Regions from separate parts of the Homo sapiens genome. Here regions 1 and 2 are each linked to region 3. The links are contacts of gene promoters, found by promoter capture Hi-C in human tissues and cell types (Jung and others, 2019). All regions are on one chromosome and are shown on one strand. The core of a region is centred on a gene start or on the middle of the fragment in contact, and the rest is flanking DNA. Distances in the headings are between cores, read along the strand shown.

What was found. The method cuts DNA at HindIII sites, captures the fragments that hold promoters and counts their contacts. A contact is called where the count stands out against the background at its distance.
Region 1: the fragment with the promoter of KAT6B here is called in contact with the fragment with the promoter of SEC24C in region 3 in 1 of the 25 tissues and cell types used here (spleen).
Region 2: a contact is called between the fragment with the promoter of MICU1 here and the fragment with the promoter of SEC24C in region 3, in 1 of the 25 tissues and cell types used here (aorta).

The regions. Positions count from the first base shown.
Region 1 is chr10:74,825,117-74,827,860 of GRCh38, forward strand. It overlaps KAT6B (lysine acetyltransferase 6B), which reads left to right and starts at 1,484. Exons shown (of 18, transcript NM_012330.4): 1 at 1,484-1,669. RefSeq lists enhancers at 1-562, 563-1,334 and silencers at 170-339, 450-549, 660-859, 1,550-1,949. The HindIII fragment of the contact is 20,011 bases long and covers 1-2,744 here.
Region 2 is chr10:72,624,753-72,627,452 of GRCh38, forward strand. MICU1 (mitochondrial calcium uptake 1) reads right to left here and starts at 1,327. Exons shown (of 12, transcript NM_001195518.2): 1 at 1,258-1,327. RefSeq lists enhancers at 1,094-1,631, 1,182-1,331. The HindIII fragment of the contact is 10,311 bases long and covers 1-2,700 here.
Region 3 is chr10:73,742,997-73,745,696 of GRCh38, forward strand. SEC24C (SEC24 homolog C, COPII component) reads left to right here and starts at 1,376. Exons shown (of 23, transcript NM_198597.3): 1 at 1,376-1,441. It overlaps LOC124902453 (a long non-coding RNA gene), which reads right to left and starts at 1,269. Exons shown (of 2, transcript XR_007062195.1): 1 at 1,221-1,269; 2 at 1-215. RefSeq lists enhancers at 718-1,917, 757-1,324, 995-1,424, 1,325-1,891. The HindIII fragment of the contact is 12,749 bases long and covers 1-2,700 here.

The sequences.
Region 1 (2,744 bases), core at 234-2,733, 1.1 Mb after region 3:
CCGAGGCGTCCCCCACCCCAAAACTGCCGCGATCGCCCGAAGGCGCAAAGCCTGGGCGAAGGACGAAGTTTGGGGCCCACAGCGACGGGAGTGGGGACGCGTTGGCGAGGACCGCACCTCAGTCCCAGCCCTGGCGGGCACACTCCCCGCCCCAAACGGCCCAGGCGTCCCCATCCTCCCGCGGACACCAGCGTCTCCGCCCTCCCCCGAGGGCGGCGAGAGGAGCCCCCCGGGGCGGAGGCAGGTACCCCCGGGGCGGAGACTGGGGCGGGCGGGGTCCGGGCTGCGCCCCCGGCCAGGCCGGGCGGGCTGGCGGGCGGCGCGGGGGGAGCGGGGCTGGGCGGCGCTGCCTCGGGCTCTGTGCGCTGCAGCCCGGAGCCGAGGAGGAGGAGGCGGAGGAGGAGAAGGAGGCGGCGGCGGTGGGTCCCGGGCGGGGGGAGCGCGGCGCTGCGGACCCGGGCGGCTGGCAAAGGACGAGGCGGAGGCTGAGGAAGGCAGCGGGGAGACCCAGGCTGCAGCAACAAAGGGCAGCGAGCGATTGGCCGGGCTGCAGGCGAGGTTAGCCGGGGACCCGGGTGGCCGGAGGCAGCGGCGAGCGGTGCACGTGCTTGCAGACACGGGCGAGTGTGGAGCCGGGGGGTGCACGCCCGGTGGGTAGGGGCTTGCTCCCCCGAGGCATGGGATGGCGAGGAGGCTGCAGCGACATCGTTCTGCCTGCACCCGGCCTGGGGCTGGCAGGGTAGGGGTGTGTTGGGGGGGGAAGGATGCGAGCCAGGGGGCGGGCGAGTAGTCGCCCGGGACGGGACGGGACGGGAGAGAGGGTGGAGGAGGGGGCGGGATGGAACGCTCCGGGCGGCGCGCCCGTCCGCACACTCCACCGAAGGAGCTGGCGACTGAGAACCTCGAATTTTAACTTCGCGTGCCCGCCCGCGCGCGCCCGCCCGCGCCCACCCCTAAATCCTGCGGCCGCCGCCAGCGATCAGCTCTCACACAAACTTTAGCTGCGGGCTAGGGGGTTTGGGGTTGAGTGGGGGAGGGGAGAGGGAAAAGGCCTCCTGATTGGCGTCGTCTGCAGCCAATAAGGCTACGCTCCTCTGCTGCGAGTAGACCCAATCCTTTCCTAGAGGTGGAGGGGGCGGGTAGGTGGAAGTAGAGGTGGCGCGGTATCTAGGAGAGAGAAAAAGGGCTGGACCAATAGGTGCCCGGAAGAGGCGGACCCAGCGGTCTGTTGATTGGTATTGGCAGTGGACCCTCCCCCGGGGTGGTGCCGGAGGGGGGGATGATGGGTCGAGGGGTGTGTTTATGTGGAAGCGAGATGACCGGCAGGAACCTGCCCCAATGGGCTGCAGAGTGGTTAGTGAGTGGGTGACAGACAGACCCGTAGGCCAACGGGTGGCCTTAAGTGTCTTTGGTCTCCTCCAATGGAGCAGCGGCGGGGCGGGACCGCGACTCGGGTTTAATGAGACTCCATTGGGCTGTAATCAGTGTCATGTCGGATTCATGTCAACGACAACAACAGGGGGACACAAAATGGCGGCGGCTTAGCTCCTACCCCTGGCGGCGGCGGCAGCGGTGGCGGAGGCGACGGCACCTCCTCCAGGCGGCAGCCGCAGTTTCTCAGGCAGCGGCAGCGCCCCCGGCAGGCGCGGTGGCGGTGGCGCGCAGCCAGGTCTGTCACCCACCCCGCGCGTTCCCAGGGGGAGGAGACTGGGCGGGAGGGGGGAACAGACGGGGGGGGATTCAGGGGCTTGCGACGCCCCTCCCACAGGCCTCTGCGCGAGGGTCACCGCGGGGCCGCTCGGGGTCAGGCTGCCCCTGAGCGTGACGGTAGGGGGCGGGGGAAAGGGGAGGAGGGACAGGCCCCGCCCCTCGGCAGGGCTCTAGGGCAAGGGGGCGGGGCTCGAGGGCGGAGGGGGGCGGGGCGGGATCGGGTGGGGGCGGGGTTCGGGGAGTCGGAAGGCGGGGGCTGAGAGGGAATTTCTGAGTGGGAGTGAACTGGTAGGAGCGGTGGGGGGCCGGCGAGGGTGTGAGGAAGACTAGTGAGGGTTGGGTGGGAGGAGAAGCTGAAGGTGTAGAAGCAGGTGCAGAGGGAGAGTTAGGGAGGGATGCAATTTGAGAGAAGTGGAAGGCGGACCGAGGGGTGTGTGAGGGCAGGTGAGATGATACCGAAGGCGAGATTGCAGTTGTCTGGGCGCAGAGTAGGTGGGTTTGGGTGTGGTGGATGTGGAGTAGAGTTGAAGCGGTGCAGAGTGTTGGGTTTGGGGAGGCGTTGAGGGGTTTGGGGAGGCATTGAGGCGCATGTGAGGAGCAGGTACGATTGCAGTGATGGGAAAGAGGTATCTGGGTGGATCGCATGTTGGAATAAGAAGGAGGTTTGCTAGCTTTGGGGTATGAAGTATTTTTTAAAAACGTGGAAGGATGGGATGGTTGTGCTTGGGAGAGTTTCTGAAAGATGATGCTAAGACAGCAGAGCAAACTTAAATATGAAGGAAGGGGAGAGAGGCTGCTTAGAACTTGCAAAATCTGTGGCAGAAAATCTCCTGGGGACAAGGGATTGGTAGGGGTGGGACAAGGCGGCAGGTGTGAAGAAAGTGGGTGGAGCTGTACAGTAATTTTCGGTGAATGTGATTTGGTGGACTGTGCCAGGGGTGAGGATGGGGCAGAGAAAGGTGTTAGTTTGGGAGACAAGTTGTTTGATAGGCTGTATTTATTATTTTTTATAAAAATGAGAAAAGGGTCTCACT
Region 2 (2,700 bases), core at 77-2,576, 1.1 Mb before region 3:
CAGAGTGATGTTCTTAAGTGGAAGAGACAATCAGGGACAAACCAAGGATTGGGACAAAGAGTAGCTGGAGGCAAAAGCCACCTTCCTACAGACAAGTGGCAATGGGTTCTAAAGTTTTTAGGATAAGGCAATATTCAAAAAGCTCATTACCTGGTCCACACCAGAAACACAGTAGGTGGGTCATTCTGGCCAACACCTTTGTCTCAAGATACTGACGTTTATTATTTGTCATATGGTCCAATGAAACCTAAACTCTCCTACAGCTATCCACACCGAACTTGTTTCACCTCATGAAATGCAAACTCCTTTCTTATACTGCTCGATCACTTCCCTACGTGCCCCAAAGGGATGTTCTAATATAAACAAAGGCATATCAAAGAAGCCACCCAAACAAGTGAGATAGAAACATTTATTGATAAATAGGAAGAAAATGGGCGTTTCTAAGGTACCACAGGAAAAATAAAATATTTTACTCTAGTCCCTTAGCTATAAGATATTTATTCTACTTATATTTACTAATGGCCACCGTATTTTTTAAGACATGGAAAATTGGAAGGTAAAGAAACCATCAACCATAAGATTACAGAGAAGGCAACTTGAAGAACAGTTTGTTTTAAACTGTTCTCCCAACATTCACATAGAGTCAATAACATCTAGCTCTTTCTCAAAACAGCCTATGGCCGGCCAGAATGCGACGGTGAAAACAAAACAGGGAGAACGTAATGAAAACGGGAAGGCGCTGGAAAAGATAAAAACTGAACAGTCCGAGTAGCCTGCACTTTGTATTTCTCCTTTGAGTCCTCACTGATTTTCCACTTATTTCGATTCAGTGGTTAATATTTCTCCGTATTAGAAATCCATCTGTGAACTCCCGCACCCACTTCTAACCACATCCACAAATTCCAGGAGAGCCAGTCAAGGCTACCAGAGTGTCCCAGTCGCCTGTGAGGAGGGGGGCGTCGGCGCCAAGTTGCGAACCCGGCACTGGGAGAAGTTCTCCCGGGACGGGAGAAGGGACGGGTTGGGGTGAAGGAAAGTGGAGGACGGGAGGCAAGCAAGACTACGGACTCCTCTCCAAAAGCTGAGCGCATCAGGGAGAGACAGGTATCCCGCCAGACCCGAGAAGTAGCCGGATGCCCGGGGCGGACAAACGGCCAGCCACGAAGCCCAGTTCCCTAAGGCTGTCTCGCCAACCCCCTTCCCCTTCGCCTTCCCTAAATTGCTGTCTCCTTATACCCTCCAGAGTCCAAGACTCACGCGTCCAAACACGAGCTCCAGCAGCCTCTCGGTCAAAGCCGCCCACCTCTGACAGCCATAGAGATGAAACAGCGGAGACAAACCTCCACCCCCTCCGCCCACTCTCACGTGACTCTCCTAGCCGCTGGGCCTGTCGGGATCGTGGAGACAGGCGTGTGGGAGGGGCACAGAGGAAAAGGAACGGGGAGGGGCGGGGAAATCAACGCGCCACGCCCCAGCCTCGGGCCCCGCCCTAGCCCCGTCACTCCCCCTTACTCCCCTCAGCGTTTAGGCGGGAAAGCTGGAGAGCTCCCAGAAGCTCTCGGGCATTTCTTCTGGTTTTTTTCCCCTCCACAAGGGTCATAGGAATCTGTTGAGAAATTTACTGTGGCTTGTAACACCTCCTCGGTACCCGTTTTCGTGTTGGCTATGTTGGCTAAGCAAAAAGGAGTTCGTGAAAAGAAAACTGGACCACAGTGAGTTGGAAATTGTTTCTTTCCAACTCCGTTTAGGTTTTCTCAGAGATTAAATGTTCCTGTTTCATAACCTTGAGACTTTTTTGGATTTAGAAACCCTCACCACTTCCTCTGGTGGATGATTTTGTCAGGTGTTTTATTTGCAGACTAATATTATTGCAGAGTTTATAATCTCTAGAAGCCACTTAAAAACATGTTTTCCCTTGAAGAATGTGTTTTTTGTTTGTTTGTTTGTTTGTTTGTTTTGAGATAGAGTTTCACTCTTGATGCCCAGGCTGGAGTGCAGTGGAGCGATCTCGGCTCTCTGCAATCTCTGCCTCCTGGGTTCAAGCGATTCTCCTGCCTCAGCCTCCCAAGTAGCTGGGATTACAGGCATGCGCCACCACGCCCTACTAATTTGTATTTTTGGTAGAGACGGGGTTTTTCCATGTTGGTCAGGCTGGTCTGGAACGCCCGACCTCAGGTGATCCGCCCACCTCGGCCTCCCAAAGTGCGAGGATTACAGGCGTGAGCCACTGCGCCCGGCTGAAGAAGGTGTTTTTATCAGAAAAATGGGATGGCAAAGGATCCTCACCCCTGCTGTGGAAATAGGATGGAAATATGACTATAATACCAGAGAATTTTTTTGGGGGGGGGGCAGCGGGGTGTTGGTTGGTTGTTTGTTCGTTTGTTTTGAGACGGAGTCTCGCACTGTCGCCCAGGTTGGAGTGCAGTGATGCTCACTGCAACATCCTCCTCCCAGGTTCAAGTGATTCTTCTGCCTCAGCCTCCCGAGTAGCTGAGATTACAGGCACGCCCCACCACGCCCGGCTAATTTTTGTATTTTTAGTACAGACGGGGTTTCGCCATGTTGGGCAGGCTAGTCTCAAACTCCTGACCTCGGGCGATCCTCCCGTCTCGGCTTCCCAAAGTGCTGGGATTAACAAGTGCGAGCCACCTCGCTGGTCCCAGAGAACTTTCAAATAATTTTTTTTTCCCAAGAATTTAC
Region 3 (2,700 bases), core at 126-2,625:
TAGTCTCCCTGAGCATTTGAGGATCAGAGTTCTTAAAGATAATTTGGCGAGTAGGAGCTTGGGAAGCGGGGAGTGCTGATTGGTCAGGTTGAAGACGGAATCACAGGGAGTCAAAGTGAGGTTTTCTTGCTGTTTTCTGTTCCTGGGTGGAATGGCAGAACTGATTGAGCCAGGTTACTGGTCTAGGTAGTCAGCTGATCCAATGAGTGCAGGGTCTGCAAAACATCTCAAGCACTAATCTTAGGTTTTACAATAGTTATGTTATTCCTAAAAGCAATTTGGGGAGGTTCAGACTCTTGGAGCGAGAGGCTGCATGTCCCCTAAACTGTAATTTGTAATCTTGTAGCTAATTTGTTAGTCCTGTAAAGACAGACTGGTCCCCAGGCAAGAAGGGGGTCTTTTCGGGAAGGGGCTATTATCAATTTTGTTTCAAACCATAAACTGAATTCCTCCCCAAAGTTAGTTCCACCTACACCCAGGAATGAATAAGGACAGCTTAAAGGTTAGAAGCAAGATGGAGTCGGTTAAGTCTGATTTCTTCCACTATCATAATTTCCTCAGTTGTAATTTTGCAAAGGCAGTTTCAACAGCAGTGCTCGAAAAATTATGAAATCAACAAATAGTACTGAAAAGTTCAAATGAAGTCATATATGAAAAAGAAATCCTAGCACTGTTAGCTATAATTACTTAGCCATTAAATGGGGTACTAATAATTACTGCAGGAACTATCTTTTCCAACAGAGCGCAGAGATCTTTTGGCTCTGATAAAGCTCTGCACCTAAACAAAGGCGCTGTATAAAAATGGTTAATAACAATTGACCTTTACTGAGTGCTTACTATGATGCCAAGCGGCCTATGTGGCCTAATTTCATCCTCTGGGCATTATTATTTCCATTTTACAAGCTGTAGAGCCAGACCTCAGACCCCCACATGCAGGTTGACAACAGTTGGTGCCCTTTACCACCACCACACGTTCCGCAAATCTCATAACCAGCAAACGCCATGGGTGAGAGCAACCTAGCGGACGGAAATCAACGGGGTCAGGGGTCACCAGGAAGTGACTACAAGACTCTAGCTCAGAGGTCACTAATACGTCACAGGCAGAGTGAAGGGGCATTATTAAAGATAGTTTGACAAATTCTTTTTAATCTCATTTCTGTTGGTGAGGCCATAAAGTGACTGGAACATCTGAAAAAAAATGTCAGGAGGGAAATACATACGACTCAGCAGAGGCGCACAGGCGGCGGCCATGATGGGAAGATGAAAGAGGCGCATGCGCGGCATCCGGGTCCCCGAAATGCAGACGTGGCAGAAGAAGTGGCCCGGCCCTAAAGCGTGGAGGAGGAACTTCCGGGGGTGACGGGACGGCCCCCTCGGAACCGGAAGTGGAGCCTGGGAGCCTTGACGTTAGGAACGAAGTCTAACCTGGATCTGGAGCCGGGTGAGGAGTGGCATCGGGAGGTTGGCGGGTAGGAAAGCAAAGGAGAGGTCAGGGTATTACTGGCCAGATTGGGGTCCGGTTTCAGAAAGAAGGGAGGAGCCTGGGGGCGGGGCCTGGGTAGAGACCCTCACCTCACGCATCCACCATCCAGGAGCAGGTCCTAGACCATCCCTTCGTCTCCCGGCCCAGATTCCGGCTCCTGCTTCCTGCCCCGAGCCTGTTAAAAGGTGCAAGACGTTTGGTCTCTGTGCTTAACAGAGCAGCCCCCTCTCTTAACGTGGCCCTAGAAGCCGACTTGGCTTCTCGGTTTTGATCCTCGGCTCTCCGAGGCTCCATGGCTTGACTACTTTCAGAGTTCTAGGAAGCTTGCCCCGCCCCCTTGGGTTGTCACCCTCGACTATCCACCCAGAATGGAGTCGAGACTTCAGTCTGACTCCAAGCTCTTGAATGTGTTTGAGGGGATTATTTTCTGGAGAAGAAGCTCCTTTCTTTACCCCTCCCCCCGGCTTTGGAAACATAAAGGGAGAGGACATATTTTAAACTTAGTGTCAGTGACCTACCTCTGTAAGGTTTAGGGTTTGGAAGAACAGCTATTGAGATAACTTTGAGTTTAAAGAGTTTTAGACCAGGATCAGCTCCTTTTCTATAGTCAAGGTGGCCCTTCTAGCAAAGGGGGAGAGGTCCATTGTTCCCTTTGCAGCAACTCTGAGTGCTCCTGCTTTCTGGGCCCCTTCTGTCTACAGGATAATTGGAATGATACAGCTGTTGAAAGTAGATGTGATGAGATAGTTTTCTTGGAAGGACCCTGTTTAGAAAAGGCCCTCTAATTCATCCCTGTGTTGATGAGCAAGATTGTAATAATTTTGATGGTGGCTGAGATTCATAACAATCGTAAGGGGAGCAGAAACAGGAGAGTTGGAGAAGTGCATTGGAATTTAGAATATTCATAGTCTTCTGCTTGAGGGATGAGGTGAATGATTTTTTTCCATGAAATCTAACTCTAACTTTGCCCCTGATTCTTGAACTGTTTCCTCAGATTATGTGAAGAAGTTTTGGTGCCTGTTCTGCACTTGGTTTTAATCTGTTACCTTGCTAGAGTTTTCAGGTGTCCTTTATTTTTTATTTTTTTGAAAGGGCGTCTTGCTCTATTGCTCAGGCTGGAGTGCAGTGGCACGATCTCGGCTTATTGCAATCTCCGCCTCCCGGGTTCAAGCGATTTCTCCTGCCTCAGCCTCCCAAGTAGCTGGGATTACAGGCGT